2 separate regions of the Homo sapiens genome follow, and region 1 is linked to region 2. Evidence: promoter capture Hi-C in human tissues and cell types (Jung and others, 2019). All regions are on one chromosome and are shown on one strand. The core of a region is centred on a gene start or on the middle of the fragment in contact, and the rest is flanking DNA. Distances in the headings are between cores, read along the strand shown.

Region 1 (6,641 bases), core at 1,373-3,872, 640 kb after region 2:
CTACTAATAAATACAAAAATTAGCCAGGCGTGGTTGCGCATGTCTGTAATCTCAGCTCCTCGGGAGGCTGAGGCAGGAGAATCACTTGAATCCAGGAGGCAGAGGCTGCAGTGAGCCGAGATCGCGCCATTGCACTCCAGCCTGGTGACAGACACTCCGTCTCAAAAAAAAAAAAAAAAAAAGAAGAGCTTCACAATCTACCTTAGTACCATTGCTGTTGCTCTCCCAGCCCAGCCACACCACCTCCCTCCTGGACTAGTGCACTAACCTCCCTGCAGATCTCCCTGGTCTTCCTGTGTTCGCGCTTGCCCTCCTACTGGCCGTTCTCCTCCTCTCCACTCCCGTACATGCGAACATGTTGAAGTCGAATCATAGCTCTCCCCATCTCAAACCTTCCCAGTAGTGTAAATGTTTAAAACCAGCTGGTGGGTGGAGCTCACTTGAAGAATTTGCCAATTCCTGTGGTGTAAACACTCCCATTTTGGCCAATTCCTAGCTACCATGTGACATCGCTGAACATGGAGAGGGAGAGGAATGTGCACAGTCAGCTCTCGCAAGCCAGTGTGAGCACACCACTGCCCCCACTCCACTCAGAACAAAACACAGGCCGGGCGCAGCGGCTCATGCCTGTCATCCCAGCACTTTGGGAGGCAAAGGCGGGAGGATCACTTGATCCCAGGAGTTTGAGACCAGCCTGGGCAACATAAGGAGACCCTGTCTCTACCAAAAATAAAAGCCTAGCTGGGTGTGGTGGCGCATGCCTGTAGTCCCAGCTGCTCAGGAGGCTGAGGTGGGAGGATCACTTGGACCTGGGAGGTCAAGGTTGCAGTAAGCCATGATTGCACCACTGCACTCCAGCCTGGGCGACAGAGTGAGACCCTGTCTCAAAAAAAAAAAAAAGAGAGAGAGAGAGAGAAGGAGGGAGGGCAAGTGGGAAGGTAGAAAAGGAAGGAAGGAAAGGAAAGAAGAGAAGGGGAGAGAAGGGGAGGGGAGAGGGAGGGGGAAGAAAGGAAGGAAGCGAGGGAGGGAGAAAAGGAGGGAGAAAGGGAGAGAAAACAGGAAGGGCAAGCAAGGCAAACAGAGTCCTTACTATGGCCTCTGCAAGGCCCTGCTGAGCCAGCCCGCTGCCTCTCCACTCATCCCCACCCCTCCCCATCACTCAATGCCCTGTAGCCTCCTCCTTGCTGTTCCCCAAGTGTCAAAGCTGTTCCCACCTCAGGGCCTTGGTACTTGCTGTTCCCTCTGCCGGGAATGCTCTCTCAGCTCCTTTCAGGGTAATCTCTGTCACGAACTGAGGTCTCTGTTCAAGTGCCACCCTCACTACCCCCTTCAAAATAATATTTCTCTATCACAATTACCCTTGTTTCATAGACTTTATCGCTGCCCAGTATTTTGCTGTATATTTATTTGTCTATCGTCCTCACTAGACGCAAATTTTACAAGGGCAGGAAATTCACCAGTTCACCCCTCTGTCCCCAGCACCTGGAGGGAATGGCGCATGGAAGGAACCCACTTCTGGTCGGGCACAGTGGCTCACTGTGCTTGTAATCCCAGCACTTTGAGAGGCCAAGGCAGGCAGATCATCTGAGGTCAGGAGTTCGAGACCAGCCTGGCCAACATGGTGAAACCTTGTCTCTACTAAAAATATAAAAATTAACTGGGCATGGTGGTGCGTGCCTGTAATCCCAGCTACTTGGGAGGCTAGGGTGGGAGGATCGCTTGAACCCAGAAGGTGGAGGCTTCAGTGAGCCAAGACTGCACCACTGCACTCCAGCCTGGGTGACAGAGCCAGACTCCGTCTCAAAAAAAAAAACAACAAAACACTTCTGTGGGTCAGGCAGGCACTGAGAACATAGCTGTGAATGAGCCCTGGCTCTGTCACTGAAGCAGAGGTTCCAGAGGAAGGCAAGGAGGCCAGCAAAGGGGGCTCGACTGCTCCTTGGGTGCCAAGACAAGCACTGGGACCTTTATCCTGCCAAGGCAGGTGGTATCACTAGTTTTTTTGTTGTTGTTGTTCTTGTTGTTTTGTTTGTTTGAGACAGAGTCTCCCTCTGTTGCCCAGGCTGGAGTGCAGTGGCATGATCTCGGCTCACTGCAACCTCCGCCTCCTGGGTTCAAGTGATTCTCTCACCTCAGCCTCCCAAGTAGCTGGAATTACACGTGCCCACTAACACACCCAGCTAATTTTTTGTATTTTTAGTAGAGACAAGGTTTCACCATGTTGGCCAGGCTGGTCTCGAACTATTGACCTCAGGTGATCGGACCCCCTTGTCCTTCCAAAGTGCTGGCATTACAGGTGTAAGCCACCACACCCGGCTGGCATCACTAGTTTATCAAAAGCAGCGTGACTCCCACTTAGCCTCTCCCTTGCTGCTCTGCCTCTCCAACCTTGGGAATGTCCCACGGACTTCACCTGCCTGAGGCCAAGTCCATGCAGTCTGCCCGTTTCCATCAAGGGTGCTGCCCAAACTTGGGAGTGAGCTGCAGAAGCACAAACCCTCAGAGTTTGGGACACTGGGAAGCTGTCCTGCCCGCAGGGCCCTCCACGGGACCCCCAGAGCTCCTGCATTGGAGTAAGGGGAGAGCAACTTTGCAGCCAAGGCCCTGGTCAGCACCTGTTGTTCAGCTTCTTCTAGGATAACACCAGGGACAGAGGACTTACTTTTTTATTCATTCATTCATTCATTCATTCATGGTTCAGCAGGTAGTAACTGGGCATCCACGTAGTCTGGGCCAGCCCCTACTCCTGGTGCTGGGGGCCCAGTGTTGGCCACAGTAAGCCTGTGCCCTCCCTCACTGGGCTTACCATCCACTGAGAGGGAGATGATCACCAAGTGAACAAGTTCATAGATAATAAAACTTGAGATGAAACTGGGCTCATGAAGGCAACTGGAACAGAGGGCGGATGGAGGCTCAAGTTAGGAGCAACTCAGAGAAAGCTGGAGTGTGGCCGGGCACAATGGCTCATGCCTGTAATCCCAGCACTTTGGGAGGCCGAGGCAGGTGGATCACGAGGTCAGGAGATCAAGACCATCCTGGCTAACACAGTGAAACCTCGTTTCTACTAAAAATACAAAAAATTAACCGGGCGTGGTGGTGGGTGCCTGTAGTCCCTGCTACTCGGGAGGCTGAGGCAGGAGAATGGTGTGAACCTGGAAGGCGGAGCTTGTAGTGAGCCGAGATCGCGCCACTGCACTCCAGCCTGGGGGACAGAGCGAGACTCCATCTCAAAAAAAAAAAAGAAAAAAAAGAAAGCTGGGACGCCTCTCTCGGGAGGTGGCATCTGAACTGGGCCCTGAACAACCAGAGGGTGCCTCTGCTCAGCCTGGGCTCAAGCAGTGCAAGCCAAGGAAACAGCAAGTGCCAAGGCCCTGGGGCAGCAACAAGTTTGACATTTTGGAGGACCAGGCAGGGCATGGTGGCTCACACCTGTAATCCCAGCACTTTGAGAGGCCAAGGCGGGCAGATCACAAGGTCAGGAGATCGAGACCATCCTGGCTAACACGGTGAAACCCCGTCTCTACTAAAAATACAAAAAAATTAGCCGGGTGTGGTGGCGGACGCCTGTAGTCCCAGCTACTCGGGAGGCTGAGGCAGGAGAATGGTGTGAACCCGGGAGGCGAAGCTTGCAGTGAGCCGAGATCGCGCCACTGCACTCCAGCCTGGGTGACAGAGCGAGACTCTGTCTCAAAAACAAACAAAAAAAAGACATTCTGGAGGACCAGAGAGAGGGCAACATGACTGAAGTACGGGAGTGGGCGAGTGGGGCGGGGGCACAGTGGCTCATCACCTCGTGGGGCCTTCTGTGCACAGTCAGGAGCCACCCTTCAAGTAGGGATCTGATGGGAGTGACCTTCAAGCACCTCAGGGTAGAATCACCTTTAAGCACCTCAGGGTAGAGCCCAGGGACAGTGGCAGAGTGGAGTCAGGAGAGCAGAGAGGAGATGCTGCTGGCCAGCGCTCCTGGGAGAGCTGACCGTGCTCCCTGGCTGCGGGCAGATTTGGGTTACAATTTGGAGGGAGACCCAATAGGACCTGCTCATGGGTTGGATTTGAGAGGTAGAGGAAAAGAAAGGAATTCAGGATAACACCTGCACCAGGTATGGTAGCTCATACCTGTAATAATCCCAGCACTTTGAGAGGCCGAGGCACGAGGATCACTTGTGCTCAGGAGTTTGAGACCAGCCTGGGCAACATAGGGAAACCCTGTCTCTACAGAAAAAAAGTTTCTTAAATTTAGCTGGGCATAATGGTGCACACCTGTAGTCCCAGGTGTGGACCCAGGAGAGTAAACTCTCAAGCAATAGAGGGTAAACGAGGCCAAGGCTGCAGTGAGCTATGATTGTGCCACTGCACCAGCCTGGACGACAGAGCAAGACTCTGTCTCAAAAAATAAAAATAAAAAAGATAACACCTGGGCCAGGCACGGTGACTCACTCCTATAATCTCAGGACTTTGGGATGCTGAGGCAGGTGGATCACTTGAGGCCAGGAGTTGGAGACCAGCCTGGCCAACATGGTGAAACCCGGTCTCTACTAAAAATACAAAATTAGCCAGGCGTGGTGGTGCAGGCCTATAATCCTAGCTACTAGGGAGGCTGAGCCAGGAGAATCACTTGAACCTGGGAGGCAAAGTTTGCAGTGAGCTGAAATCGAGCCACTGCACTCCAGCCTGGGTGACAGAGCAAGATCCTGTCTCAAAAAATAAAAAGGATGACGCCTGGATTTGGGGCCTGATGGCTGTCCGCAGAGACAGACTGCCTTGGGGAGAACAAGGAGCCACGTGGCCATAGCCAATCTTTCCCTTGCCCAGCTCCGGGTACCCCACCATGCTGGCCTTTGTAGGACCTGGTGTCAGACAAACCTGGGCACCACCCTGAACCCACTTGGACAAGCTGGAGGCCCTGGGACGCCACTAAGATCTGAGCCCCACCACCAAAAGCCCTTGACTGGGAATGTGATGCCACCTTCTCGGCTCACTGTGGGGACTCCACGAGGTGACACATAAAGCACAATCTGCACACACCAAGAGGCACGCTACCAGCCAGAGAGTCATTGCTGTCATGCGTCTTCGTCATCTTTGTGCAAATCGGCCCTGCCTCCAAAAAGAAACTGGGCCCTTGGAAGAGGTGCCTCTCAGAGAAGCCCAGGGTCTGGGGCCAGTCCTGGAGAGATGGGTGCAGGAGCAGGAGGAAGAGGAGGAGGAGGGGGAGGGGGTAGAGTGAAGTGGAGTGGAGGAGGGCTCTCAGGCCACCACAGTGGGGACAGGCAGCACACGGCAGCCCATGCCACCCGAGCCCTCAGGTCAGGCCCCGTGGAGAGGCTGCAGGAGCACGAGCTTTGGCGGGAAAGAGACCCCAGACCCTTCTGTGAAATGAGGACATCAGCGCCCATTGTGAGGATGAGGCAAGAGAAGCTTCGAAGCACTTAGCTCAGGGCCAGACACATAGGCCGCATGCAGGAGCCACAAGCTCCAGGCTCGCTGCGGGAACCCCCAGACATCAGGGGGCAGACAGCTGCTGGGGCCTGGAGCAGCAGTGGCAACTGAGACATGGGGACCAGGAATTTGCATGGAGTAGGGCAGGAGCCACTCCTGAAGGAATGGCCAGGCCACCACAGTCCGGGCAGAAGCCAGGCCTGGGGCCAGTAGCCAGCAAGGGAACGACCGCCCCAGCTCCAGACACCCAGCACACCTCCCAGCCTTGCTGCCGGAGCCCTCATCCTGCCTTCAAGGAAGGCTCTCCACCCTGTCCACGACATTCCCACAGCTCCCCACATGCCCCGTGTCCTCCTTAAACCTCCATGAGGGACGGAACCGCATCTGCCTCCTCCATGGTCCTTGGGGTCTCCTTGGAGCCTGGCAGAGCAAGTGCTCAGTAAACGTTCGTGGGACAGATTCACAGCCATTATTGGGCTCAGTGGGTAGAAATGTCCACACTGAGCTGGGCACAGTGGCTCATGCCTGTAATCCCAGCACTTTGGGAGGCCAAGGTGGGTGGATCACCTGAGGTTAGGAGTTCGAGACCAGCCTGGCCAACATGGTGAAACCCCGTCTCTACTAAAAATACAAAATTAGCCGGGTGTGGTGGTGCACACCAGTAATCTTGGCTACTTGGGAGGCTAAAGCAGGAGAATCGCTTGAATCCAGGAGTTGGGGGTTGCAGTGAGCAGAGATGGCACCACTGCACTCCAGCCTGGATGACACAGCAAGACTCTTGTCTCAAAGAAAAAAAAAAGAAAGAAAGAAAGAAAGAAATGTCCACGCTGGAGCCTGATGGCCCAGGTTTGAAACCCACTTACCACCAAGGAATTCCCCCATGGCTCGGTTGCCACATGCCCACCTCGCAGGGTGGCCTGCGGAGATTCAATGAGACGGTGCCAGCAAAGCCCTGGGCTGTGTCCGTTCGGTGTCTGGTACATCCACCCTGTAAGGCCATGTTTACTTACCTTGTTTATACGTAAGGAAACTGAGGCTCAGAGGGGTTCAGTCATGGCTCAAGGTCACACAGAGGGAAATGCAAGAGCCACTCCAGAGCCCACGCACACCTTGGCCACCACGCTCCCCACCCCTTGCAGAGGGCAGGAGCTGGCTCTAGAGGGTGTGCGCAGTCCGTCAGCCCAGCAAGGGCCAGGCCCAATCTC
Region 2 (7,718 bases), core at 4,064-6,563:
CCTTTTGAGACACTCTGTCACGCAGGCTGGAGTGCAGTGGCGCAATATCAGCTCACTGCAACCTCCACCTTCCGGGTTCAAGTGATTCTTCTGCCTCAACCTCCTGAGTAGCTGGGATTACAGGCGCCTGCCACGACGCCCCTTCTAATTTTTGTATTTTTAGTAGACACGGGGTTTCACCATGTTGGCCAGCCTGGTCTTGAAATCCTGACCTCAAGTGATCTGCCCACCTTGGCCTCCCAAAGTGCTAGGATTACAGGTGTGAGCCACCACACCCGGCCGAAGATCTATTTTTCATCAAGGAATATTTACTGAGTGCTACTAGACAAAAAAGTGTGCTCTCATGGAACTTAAAGTGTTTATTCACAACTAGCTGGGATAATGCTATGGCCCTTTATAACCCTAAAAACCAACATGCACAGTTAATAAAATTAACTGTTTTCATTTCTGTTTCATTTTTAGGGTCGGGGTCTTGATTGTCACCCAGGCAGGAGTGCAGTGGTATGATCATAGCTCAATAAAACCTTGAACTCCTGGGCTCAACCAATCCTCCTGCCTCGACTTCCCCAGGAGCTGGGACTCCAGGCACATGCCACGATGCCCAGCTAAAATTGCCTGCTATCAGTGATTATTTCTTTTTTTTTTTTTTTTGAGACAGAGTCTCACTCTGTCACCCAGGCTGGAGTGCAGTGGTGTGATCCCGGCTCACTGCAAGCTCCGCCTCCCGGGTTCACGCCATTCTCTTGCCTCAGTCTCCCGAGTAGATGGGACTACAGGCGCCCGCCACCACGCCCGGCTAATTTTTGTATTTTTAGTAGAGACAGGGTTTCACCATGTTAGCCAGGATGGTCTCGATCTCCTGGTGATCCGCCCGCCATGGCCTCCCAAAGTGCTGGGATTACAGGTGTGAGCCACCGCGCCTGGCCCAGTGATTATTTCTTTAGTTCATTTCCACAACCCACACTGTGTGCCATGCTGAGACTGGCAAAGGAAAAGTAAAGCAGTAGGTAAGTGCCTTGTGCCAAGCAGGCACTTTCGTCCTGGTAAACAAAGTGCTGATGGTCCTCAGGACCTCATTTTATCATTGAGAGAATGAAGGGCTTGTGTGCCCCAAAAAACCGCCTCCCGCTGACCTGAGAAAGATGAAGATGGCTTTGCGGTAAGACACTCCGTCAACCTGCTCGTAGTAGTCTAGAAACGGCTTGATTGCGTCAATGATCCCGGGGTGCAATTTATCCATCTCGTCAAATATGAAAACAGAGTTCGCACATGCACTCACATTACCGCGGATCCACTTCTGTAACTGGTCCTGGACCAACCATGAAAGAAGAAACAGGATGCGAAGCTCAAAGGGTGCACCAAGAGGCGCGCAGGCTCCATCTGCTCCTCATGCACTGAAGGACGAGGTCAGAGCTCTTAGAATGGCACCCTCACCCCCACTCGCTAGGTAGCAGCTTTTCTAAAACCTTATCTCTAAAAAGTGGAAATTGGCAGAGATAGATGCTAAAATGCAGAGAAGTTTTTTCCTAACTCAAATGACTATTAAATCTGACTTTTTAAAGGTATAAGAGGTACAAGATCCGTGATTCTTTTCTTCTCTTTTTTGTCTTTGGAAACAGGGTCTCACTCTATCCCCCAGGCTGGTGTGTAGTGGCGTGATCTCAGCTCACTGCAACCTCTGCCTCTTGGGTTCAAGCGATTCCCCGGCCTCAGCCCCCCGTGTAGTTGGGACTACAGGCGCCCCGATCCCCTGCACCATGCCTGGCTAATTTTTGTATTTTTAGTAGAGACAGGGTTGTGCCATGTTGGCCAGGCTCGTCTCAAACTCCTGACCTCAGGTGATCCACCCACCTCACCCTCCCAAAGTGCTGAGATTACAGGAATGAGCCACCCGGCAAGATCCGTGAATATCATTCACTGCTAACGTAGCCATAGTTTTCATCTCTCTTGGACTACAATCTCAAGTTAGTACTATCAGACATACTGAGGAATAAGGAACTAGATCAAGACCTGCACAGTACACAGTGCCCCAGACCAACAGAGCTGACTCAATGACATTTCATGAAAAGCATCTGTTCCAGATGTTTTCTTCAAACAAACATAAAGACACTCAAGCAACAAGCCCTCAACCCCAAAGCGTGAAAGGCTATACCAGGAAACTCCCCCAGACATGCCCTCAACCATTTATATTACTCTGTTTCCGGAGATTTATGAAGAATGTAAAGAACAAGAAAATCCTTCCTTCCTTCCTTTTTAGCAGTCTTCCCTGTCTCACGTCAGTTTGTTGGGCAAACACTTCTACTTCCTTGTTCAGTTAAGTTTCTATTTCTTTCTTCAGTCCCCACCTAACAGGAGGAATTTTTTTTTTTTTTTTTTGAGATAGAGTCTTACTCTGTCGCCCAGACTGGAATGCAGTGACATGACCATGGTTCATTGTAGGCTCAGCCTCCCGGGCTCAAGCGATCCTCCCATCTCAGCCTCCCAAGTAGCTGGGACTACAGGTGCATGCCACTACACCTGGCTAATTTTTTTATTTTTTGTAGAGATGGAGTCTTGCTATGTTGCCAGTGGGAATGTTAACCTTGACAAGGACAACATTCATTTAAATGAGAACTAACCCTCCTAGACAACTTAATATAAAATGAATGTGGAAACAATATCTCAAAAGGAGAAACAGTCTCAAGGTTCAGTTCTTTGAGGCTTCCTTTGAAGAAAGCAATGCCAAGGACATGAAGGATGGGAGGAACAAAGGGAATAAAACCTGTTAAGGAGAAAAAAGACCTCTAGGCTACATTGCAAAGAGCAGAGGCAAAGCTGAGGCTGCACCAGAGGTGGGCAGCATTGAATGAAGCCACACCGGAGCAAATCCTTGAAGACTGACTGCCCCTTCTCACCAACTGCACTGCTGGGGATGTGGAATCCCTTCACTCACCAGAGAAGGTGGCTACCATGTCAACTGGGAGTTGGGAGGTTTTGGTTCTGCTACAAAGGTCCTGTTCTGCTACAAAGATTGTAGGAGTAAGTCACCTTGCCTCTGGGCTCCAGGCTCCATCTTTTTTTTTTTTCTTTTTTTTTGAGACAGAGTCTCATTCTGTTGCCCAGGCTGGGGTGCAGTGGCCCATTCTCAGCTGACTGCAACCTCAGCCTCCCAAGTAGCTTGAATTACAGGCGCACGCCATCACGCCCGGCTAATTTTGTATTTTCAGTAGAGACGGGGTTTCTCCATGTTGGTCAGGCTGGTCTCGAACTCCCGACCTCAGGTGATCCGCCCGCCTTGGCGGATCCCAAAGTGCTGGGATTACAGGCGTGAGCCACTGCACCTGGCCCTGACTACATCTCTCTTTTTTTTTTTTTTTTCTGAGACAGAGTCTCACTGTGTCGCCCAGGCTGGAGTGCAGTGGCGCGATCTCGGCTCAGTGCAAGCTCCGCCTCCCGGGTTCAGGCCATTCTCCTGCCTCAGCCTCCCGAGTAGCTGGGACAACAGGTGCCCGCCACCATCCCCGGCTAATTTTTTGTATTTTTAGTAGAGACGGGGTCTCACCGTGTTAGCCAGGATGGTCTCCATCTCCTGACCTCGTGATCCGCCCCCCTCGGCCTCCGAAAGTGCTGGGATTACAGGCGTGAGCCACTGTGCCAGGCCTTTTTTTTTTTTTTTTTTTTGAGACCGAGTACGGTGGCGCGATCTCAGCTCACTGCAACCTCTGCCACCCAGGTTCAAGCGATTCTCCTGCCTCAGCCTCCCAAGTAGCTGGGATTACAGGTGCGTGCCACCGTGCTCAGGTAATTTTGGTACTTTTAGGTAGAGATGGGGTTTCACCATGTTGGCCAGGCTGGTCTCAAACTCCTGGCCTCAAATGATCCGCCCGCCTCGGCTTCCCCAAAATGCTGGGATTACAGGCGTGAGCCACGGCGCCAGGCCCTTGGCTCCCCATCTTTTAATGGAAATAACATCCCCTACCCCACTGGACTGTTTTGGAACCAAGTAAGAGAAATGTTGTAGGAGAGCTTTGTAACTACCTGGACTAAGTGTGCCTTAACTCAGTGGAGCCGGGGGCTACAGCAACACAAAGGAAAGAGAAGCAGAGGCCAGAGTTAGTGAGCAGGTCACCCGGACCAGTCCGACTGGCCTGCAGACGAGATAATAGCGGGTTCTCTTGCCTGGTACAGTTTTATCTTCTGCTCATGAGGGAAGTGCAGAGTCGATACAAACAGGTGGACAAAGTTACTCTTCAGACCTTTTGGGTGAAGATTTTCAGCCACAATTTGACTGACAAAATTCTTGCCTGTGCCAGCCCAGCCGTGTAAGGAAAGGGTCAGTGGTTTCTTGGGATTTTTGTTGTTCCTGAAGCCAGTCAGCGCCTTGAAAATCACTTCCGTGGCTAGATGCTGTCCAAACAGCTTCTCCTCCAAATCCAGCTTGAGAGCTGCAAGAACAGCCCCAGAACAAAGAGAGAAACAGACCTTAAAAATGCATCAGCAACGCAGCACTTTCTTAGCTGGCCAAAGCAAGAAGCACAGATTATCCAGGGACACAGCAGGGTGTCTGCCACACCCTAGGGCCGAGGCAGTCAAACGATGCCACTTTCAAGATTATGTGGAGGTCCTTAACGCTTCGGGGTCTGATAAGGAAGCTAAATGTTCATTCATTCAGAGATGAACCATCGCTTGACTGAGCGCTTGCTAATCCCAGCCACCCTTGCTGACCTGCAGGAAAACCAGGGGCCAAATGTGGGCTTTCTGGGCGACGCAGCACGTCTGAAAACTACTTAATAGGGTTGGCAGGGCGCAGAAGGGCCGCCCGCCTACTTTCCGTTTCTTCCACCTGTGATCCCAAGGAACGGGAGCTTTAGAAAGGCGCTGGGGCAGCCCCACGATCTGGAGACTGTTTGCGAAGGCACCGCTTCTGCGTTCCCGCGAACGGTTCCGGGGCCGCCCCATCCGCTCCCCGCCCACCCCAGCTGGGACCACCGCCGTCTAGATGCCACGGGCCCGGTCCGTGCCAGGCGCCCACGAGGCCGTCCCTCCGCGCCCCCGCGCCCCCGCGCCCCCCGCAGCGCCGACCCACAGCTCGCGCGCGCGCCGTACCCGAAGCGTTGAGCGGCCGCTCCTCGCGGCAGCACTCGGCGAAGCGGCAGTAGATGTCATTGTAGGACAGGTAGCCGGTGATGGCCGACGCGGCCCCGATGGCTAGGCCCACGGTGATGGGCTCGAACGCCGCCACCACTCGGGCCGCCAGCAGCAGCGCCAGCGCCGCCGCGCCCCGGAGCCACCCAGCCCGCAACATCCCGCTCCTCGAAGCCCGCAGAAGCCACTGAGCCAGGCGCCCCGCGGCCAAGCGGCAGGACGGACTTCCTCTCGTGCGTCACTTCCGCCCCGCAGACCCGCCCACTCCCTTGGGGGCGGCCATGTTGGTGAGGGGCGGAGAGGAGGGCGGTGCCATCGTTCTTGGGAGTGGTCCGAAGGTGTAGGAGACTGTTTTGTTTCCCTTTTCTTTTAAAAAAATTTTTTCGGGCCGGGCGCGGTGGCTCACGCCTGTAATCCCAGGACTTTGGGAGGCCGAGCCGAGATCACGCCATTGCACTCCAGCCTGGGCAACAAGAGTGAAAAAATATCTAAAAAAAAAAAAAAAAATTTTTTTTTTTTGGCCGGGCGCCGTGGCTCACGCCTGTAATCCCAGCACTTTGGGAAGCTGAAGCGGGCGGATCACCTGATGTCAGGAGTTCGAGACCAGCCTGCTCAACGTGGCGAAACCCCGTCTCTACTAAAAATACAAAAAATTAGATGGGTGTGGTGGCGGGCGCCTGTAATCCCAGCTACTCGGGAGGTTGAGGCAGGAGAATCTCTTGAACCCAGGAGGCGGAGGTTGCAGTTAGCCGAGATCGTGCCACTGCACTCCAGCCTGGGCGACAAGAGCGAAACTGTCTCAAAAAAAAAAAAAAAGGCTGGCCGGGCGCGGCGGCTCACGCCTGTAATCCCAGCACTTTGGGAGGCCGAGGCAGGCGGATCACGAGGTCAGGAGATCAAGACCATCCTGGCTAACACAGTGAAATCCCATCACTACGAAAAATAGAAAAAATCAGCCGGGCATGGTGGCGGGCGCCTGTAGTCCCAGCTACTCGGGAGGCTGAGGCAGGAGAATGGCGTGAACCTGGGAGGCGGAGCTTGCAGTGAGCCGAGATCGTGCCACTGCACTCCAGCCTGGACGACAGAGCGAGACTCCGTCTCAAAAAAAACAAAAAAAAGCCAAAAAAAATTTTTTTAAACTTTCTTATATTTTTTTCTTATCTGATATGTATATTGGGGACAGGGTCTGGCTCTGTCGCCCCGGCTGGAGCGCAGTGGCAGGATCTCGGCTCGCTGCAAACTCTTCCTCCCAGGTTCAAGCGATTCTCCCATCTCAGCTGCTGGAGTAGCTGGGATTATAGGTGCCCGCCAACACGCCCAGCCAACTTTTGTGTTTTTAGTAGAGACGGGGTTTCGCCATGTGGCCCAAGCTGGTCTCGAACTCCTGACCTCAAGCGATCTACCTGCCTCCGTCTTCCAAAGCCTGGGGTTACAGGAGTGGGCTTATGGCTGGATTTGTTTTCTTCAGAGCTTCTCGGAGCCCTCAAGCTTTGCTTTGTTATCCCTCCCTTCACTTCGCCGGAGGTATAATGTGCGTTTCTTGGGTCGGCCCACCCGCCTGCCTTCTTCCTGAAACAGTTGCGAACTCTCCGTGCTGCGCCCTAGACTGAGCACTGGGGATGCAGCGGCCCCAAGACAGACCTGCCCAGGCTTCCACACTGAAATCCCGAGGTCCATTCTTTCATTCAGCACGCTAGGTGGCAGGCCCCTTGCTGGATGCCAGGAACGACAGCAGAGGAGGGGACGGAGTTGGCCCCTGCCCTCTCAGAGCTGACGGTCTATGGGGGAGGCCGACAAAGGGGTGAGACTCAATGCTGAGTGGGCAGAGAAGTATCGGACAGTGGTACAGGGAAGGCTTTTGTCTAAGCTGGGCACTGAGGGAGTTAGGCCAGGCAAAAAATGAGTAGAGTGTTTTAGGCAGAAAACAACAGTCAGTTTGGAGAACTGAAAGGATTCCACATGGCGGAAGGTGGTGAGAGATAGGGATGAAGAATCAGGCAGAGACTGGAAGGTGAAGTCCTTGCGAATGTTGTAAGGAGTTTGGCCTCTGTTCTGGGGGGTAATAGGGAGCCACAGAGGGTTTTACACAGGAAGCAACATGGTCAGATCAGAGATCATTCTGGCTGCTGGGTTCACAAGAAATGGAAGGCAGAGAGCCAGTGAAGAGGCTGTTGCCGTGGTCCAGGTAACTAGTCAGGGAGACAGATGAGCAAGCAGGCAGCTTATGTCCAGGGTGGGCCAAGGCTGTAATGCAGGATGCACAGAGGCCTGTGGGTGGGGAGGGATCTTCTCCTCCCTATCTCAGTTGCGATCTAAAGAATGAATGGAAGGGCCAGGTGCACTGGCTCATGCCTGTAATCCCAGGACTTTGGGAGGCCGAGGCAGGCAGGTCACCTGAGGTCAGGAGTTCGAGACCAGCCTGGCCAACATGGTGAAATCCCGTCTCTACAAAAAATACAAAAATTAGCCAGGTGTGGTGGTGCGCGCCTGTAATCCCAGGTACTCGGGAGGCTGAGACAGGAAAATGGCTTGAACCCAGGAGGCAGAGGTTGCAGTGAGCCAAGATTGCGCCACTGCATTCCAGCCTGGGCGAC

The links. The method cuts DNA at HindIII sites, captures the fragments that hold promoters and counts their contacts. A contact is called where the count stands out against the background at its distance.
Region 1: a contact is called between a fragment that was not itself captured here and the fragment with the promoter of TOR1B in region 2, in 1 of the 25 tissues and cell types used here (dorsolateral prefrontal cortex).

The regions. Positions count from the first base shown.
Region 1 is chr9:129,155,317-129,161,957 of GRCh38, reverse strand. No RefSeq gene overlaps it. Among named protein-coding and RNA genes, the nearest start is that of IER5L, 20 kb to the left of the region's middle. The HindIII fragment of the contact is 3,797 bases long and covers 724-4,520 here.
Region 2 is chr9:129,800,779-129,808,496 of GRCh38, reverse strand. TOR1B (torsin family 1 member B) reads right to left here and starts at 5,313. Exons shown (of 5, transcript NM_014506.3): 1 at 5,086-5,313; 2 at 4,159-4,424; 3 at 1,134-1,309. The coding sequence starts at 5,284. RefSeq lists silencers at 4,924-5,043, 5,104-5,233. The HindIII fragment of the contact is 20,911 bases long and covers 1-7,718 here.